2 separate regions of the Homo sapiens genome follow, and region 2 is linked to region 1. Evidence: promoter capture Hi-C in human tissues and cell types (Jung and others, 2019). All regions are on one chromosome and are shown on one strand. Each heading gives the region's core, a stretch centred on a gene start or on the middle of the fragment in contact. The rest is flanking DNA. Distances are from core to core; before and after follow the strand shown. Region 1 holds the start of TERF1 (telomeric repeat binding factor 1). Region 2 has its middle 220 kb from the start of TRPA1.

The links. Contacts are between HindIII fragments. The study calls those that stand out against the background at their distance.
Region 2: a contact is called between a fragment that was not itself captured here and the fragment with the promoter of TERF1 in region 1, in 2 of the 25 tissues and cell types used here (aorta and dorsolateral prefrontal cortex).

What each region holds. Positions count from the first base shown.
Region 1 is chr8:73,007,584-73,010,200 of GRCh38, reverse strand. TERF1 (telomeric repeat binding factor 1) reads right to left here and starts at 1,337. Exons shown (of 10, transcript NM_017489.3): 1 at 996-1,337. The coding sequence starts at 1,314. RefSeq lists silencers at 1,392-1,441, 1,472-1,571. The HindIII fragment of the contact is 12,916 bases long and covers 1-2,617 here.
Region 2 is chr8:72,292,166-72,294,782 of GRCh38, reverse strand. No RefSeq gene overlaps it. Among named protein-coding and RNA genes, the nearest start is that of TRPA1, 220 kb to the right of the region's middle. The HindIII fragment of the contact is 5,071 bases long and covers 1-2,617 here.

The DNA of each region.
Region 1 (2,617 bases), core at 88-2,587:
GAAATGTGTCAAAATGTCTAAGAATTCTATTAAATAGCATAATTATAGTATTATAAATATATACTTGCACAGTAATTTTAGCGCCAACTATGAATGAAGTACCAGAACATCTTTCTGTTGTTTTTCAAAAAGCTACACTAGGCCAGGCGCGGTGGCTCATACCTGTAATCTTACAGCTGCGGGTGGTGGTGCACGCCTGCAGACCCAGCTACTCCAGAAGCTGAAGCGGGAGGATACCTGAGCCTGAGGAGGTCGAGCCTGCAGTGAGCTGTGATGGCGCCACTACACTCTCCAGCCTGGGTGACAGTGAGACCCCATCTTGGGACGGGGGCGGGGTGCAGCAGATTTCATGAACAGTTTCATTCATTCATTTATTTATTCATACAGGGTATCACTCTGTTACCCAGGCAGGACTGTAGTGGCACGATCTCGACTCACTGCAACCTCTGCCTCTTGGGTTCAAGCGATCCTCCCACCTCAGGCTCCCAAGTAGCTGGGACTTGCAGGCATGTGGCCAACATTTACTTTTATTCTGAGACTACACAGAATAAAAGTAACTGCTGTAGAGCCAGCAGGCCAAATGAGATTTAATAGCTCACAAATTAACATAAAACACTGATGCCTCGGGGGTTACTGGAGGCCACAGGGACTGCTGAATATTACTACAGGAATACCTGAGTAGAAAGCGCCAAAAGAGACAAAGGTACTGGGTTGAGTGGAACTGTATACATTTTAACTCATTTAATGCTTGCATCAAACCTAAACAGGGTCTTATTTTCATTTTATCGAAGAGGAAATCAATCTGAGAAAAACTCAGGTGCTGACAACGGGCGAACCGGGATTCGAACAAAGTTCAGCCCGGAGCCTCGGACTCCCAGCTAATCGGCCGCAGCAGCCCCTCCCTCGGCGACGTAGGGAACCAGCCCTCTGCCGCGCACCACGGAGCCCGCATCCGCCCCCCGCGTAGTCCCGGCCCGGACGCGGTCTGCACTCACCCTCTGCGCTGTTGCGGGTCCTGCGGAAGTCCTCGGAGCGGCCGTCGCGGAAAGCTCGGCAAAGAGAGAGGCAGAGGAAATCGAGCATCCAGCCGGCAGCCACGGCCTCGGCCTCGGCCACCAGGCCCGCGTCCTCCTCCTCCTCCTCCTCCTCCTCGGGGGCCCCCACCTGCACCTGGCACTCGAGCAGTTCCTGGCATTCGAACTGCTCCTCGTCGTTTCTCTCTGTTTCTGCCATCTGCTCCTCAGTAGGGTCGGCATCCCTACCATCCGCACAGCCCCGCGGGCTCGGGGCCGCTGAGGAAACATCCTCCGCCATGTTAAATGGCTCGCTTGGGTACTGCCCCTTCAGGCGCCGAGCAACGATTGGCTCGCATTCGAGGGCTCGGGGCGTGGCCGCGGAGAGTCTCTTCCGCCGGCGGGACATGGGCGAGCGGTTCAAGCCTGGCTTCTGATTGGCCGACACCTGTTCCGGCTTCTGATTGGCCGACACCTGTTCCTGCCTCTGGGCGTTGAATTTGCCGCCAGTCTAGGGCAGGGCTTTGTAGGTAAACCGGACGACTCCATACTGAGCGAGGAGCGAGATTAGGATAGGAGGAGGCAGCTTTATCTTCCTTATTCCTTGTAAAATGCAACCTTGACTGGAACAACAACACGGTTATTTAAAATGAAAACGCATTTGCCTGCAGCCTATTTCAGAAAGAGATGGGTAATGAGAACTTGTCACTATTAGACAAGCGTAACACTTTTAAACCCTAGTTTTCATCTAACAGTTACTACGTGATCACGAACAACAACTATTACAACTGACAATATCCATGCTTCTCCAACCTTAAGATGCATCAGAATCAGCCTGGGGGCTTGCTAAAACACAAATTGCCGGGCTCCACTCCCAGAATTCCTGTTCTGCTGGTCTAGCTTGGGATCCTTGAATTTGAAAGTCCAACGCTACTTGGCTGGGCACCACATTTTGAGATCAGTGCTCTAGAAAGAGTATACTATAATGGAAATGTATCTCAATCAAGGTTTGAGATCGACTATAGAATGCAGTTTGTAGAAAACAAGTGAATGCTTATTTTGAATTTTGAAACTTAGCACAAAAAGAAATTCTAAATGGGGATGGGTGGTCTGGTTATTGTTTTTGTTTTTTGTTTGTTTTTTTTTTTTCCTTTGAGACAGGATTTCGCTCTGTTGCTCAGGCTGGTCTCCAACTCCTGGCTTCAAGTTATCCTCCTGCCAAAGTGCTGGGTTTACAGGCCTGAGCCACAACGCCTGGCTCCGTTTTCTGTTCCTTGATGTGGGTTCACTTTATGAAAATTCACTGAACATCGTTTATGCACTTTTCAGTATGTGTGTCATAATTGAATAAAAAGTTTATTTTAAAAGCCTTTCTGTTTATAACGCATCCAGCATCATCAAAGCCTTTCCACATTTTCACACACTTCTTGTTATTGTCTTTAAGGTGGTACAGTTTAAGTGTTGAGTAACTAAGGCACTGTATTCTAGTATTAAGAATGCTTAGGTTGGAATATTCCCTACCAGTTACTCACTAGCTGTGTGACCTTGGGTAAATTACGTGTCAGTTTTCTTGTCCGTATAATGTGAATAATAATAATACCTGC
Region 2 (2,617 bases), core at 75-2,574, 720 kb after region 1:
GATGCTGGTTTCATAAAATGAGTTAGGGAGGATTCCCTCTTTTTCCATTTATTGGAATAGTTCCAGAAGGAATGGAACTAGCTCCTCCTTGTACCCCTGGTAGAATTCGGCTGTGAATCCATCTGGTCCTGGACTTTTTTTGGTTGGTACGCTATTAATTATTGCCTCCATTTCAGAGCCTGTTATTGGTCTATTCAGGGATTCAACTTCTTCCTGGTTCAGTCTTGGTAGGGTGCATGTGTCCAGGAATTTATCCATTTCTTCTAGATTTTCTAGTTTATTTGCATAGAGGTGTTAATAGTATTCTCTGATGGTAGTTTGTATTTCTGTGGCATCGGTGGTGATATCCCCTTTATCATTTTTTATTGCATCAATTTGATTCTCCTCTCTTTTCTTCTTTATTAATCTTGCTAGCAGTCTATCAATTTGGCTGATATTTTCAAAAAACCAGCTCCTGGATTCATTGATTTTTTGAAAGGTTTTTTGTGTCTCTGTCTCCTTCAGTTCTGCTCTGATCTTAGTTATTTCTTGCCTTCTGCTAGCTTTTGAATGTGTTTGCTCTTGGGTCTCTAGTTCTTTTAATTGCGATGTTACGGTGTCAATTTTAGATCTTTCCTGCTTTCTGTTGTGGGCATTTAGTGCTATAAATTTCCCTCTACACACTGCTTTAAATGTGTCCCAGAGATTGTGTTATGTTTTGTCTTTGTTCTCATTGGTTTCAAAGAACATCTTTATTTCTGCCTTCATTTCGTTATGTACCCAGTAGTCATTCAGGAGCAGGTTGTTCAGTTTCCATGTAGTTGAGTGGTTTTGAGTGAGTTTCTTAATCCTGAGTTCTAGTTTGATTGCACTGTGGTCTGAGAGACAGTTTGTTATAATTTCTGTTCTTCTACATATGCTGAGGAGTGCTTTACTTCCAACTATGGAGTCAATTTTGGAATAAATGTGATGTGGTGCTGAGAAGAATGCATATTCTGTTGATTTGGGTTGGAGAGTTCTGTAGATGTCTATTAGGTCCGCTTGGTGCAGAACTGAGTTCAATTCCTGGATATCCTTGTTAACTTTCTGTGTCGTTGATCTGTCTAATGTTGACAGCGGGGTGTTAAAGTCTCCCATTATTATTGTGTGGTAGTCTAAGTCTGTTTGTATGTCTCTAAGGACTTGCTTTATGAATCTGTGTGCTCCTGTATTGGGTGCATATATATTTAGGATAGTTAGCTCTTCTTGTTGAATTCATCCCTTTACCATTATGTAATGGCCTTCGTTGTCTCTTTTGATCTTTGTTGGTTTAAAGTCTGTTTTATCAGAGACTAGGATTGTAACCCCTGCCTTTTTATGTTTTCCATTTGCTTGGTAGATCTTCCTCCATCCATTTATTTTGAGCCTATGTGTGTCTCTGCATGTGAGATGGGTTTCCTGAATATAGCACACTGATGGGTCTTGATTCTTTATCCAATTTGCCAGTCTGTGTCTTTTAATTGGAACATTTAGCCCATTTACATTTAAGGTTAATATTGTTATGTGTGAATTTGATCCTGTCGTTATGATGTTAGCTGGTTATTTTGCTCGTTAGTTGATGCAGTTTCTTCATAGCATCGATGGTCTTCACAGTTTCGCATGTTTTTGCAGTGGCTGGTACCAGTTATTCCTTTCCATGTTTAGTGCTTCCTTCAGGAGCTCTTGTAGGGATGGTCTTCACAGTTTGGCATGTTTTTGCAGTGGCTGGTACCAGTTATTCCTTTCCATGTTTAGTGCTTCCTTCAGGAGCTCTTGTAGGGCATGCCTGGTGGTGACAAAATCTCTCAGCATTTGCTTATCTGTAAAGTATTTTATTTCTCCTTCACTTATGAAGCTTAGTTTGGCTGGATATGAAATTCTGGGTTGAAAATTCTTTTCTTTAAGAACGTTGAATATTGGCCCCACTCTCTTCTGGCTTGTAGAGTTTCTGCTGAGAGTTCTGCTGTTAGTCTGATGGGCTTCCCTTTGTGGGTAACCCGACCTTTCTCTCTGGCTGCCCTTAACATTTTTTCCTTCATTTCAACTTTGTTGAATCTGACAATTATGTGTCTTAGAGTTGCTCTTCTTGAGGAGTATCTTTGTGGCGTTGTGTGTATTTCCTGAATTTGAATGTTGGCCTACCTTGCTGGTTGGGGAAGTTCTCCTGGATAATATCCTGCAGAGTGTTTTCCAACTTGGTTCCATTCTCCCCGTCACTTTCAGGTACACCAATCAGACATAGATTTGGTCTATTCACATAGTCCCATATTTCTTGGAGGCTTTTTTGGTTTCTTTTTACTCTTTTTTCCCTAAATTTCTCTTCTCACTTCATTTCACTCATTTGATCTTCCATCACTGATACTCTTTCTTCCAGTTTATTGAATCGGCTACTGAAGCTTGTGCATTCGTCACATAGTTCTCATGCCATGTTTTTCAGCTCCATCAGGTCATTTAAGGACTTCTCTACATTCGTTATTCTAGTTAGCCATTCGTCCAGTCTTTTTTCATGGTTTTTAGCTTCTTTGCAATGGGTTCGAACTTCCTCCTTTAGCTCGGAGAAGTTGGATCTTCTGAAGCCTTCTTCTCTCAACTTGTCAAAGTCATTCTCCATCCAGCTTTG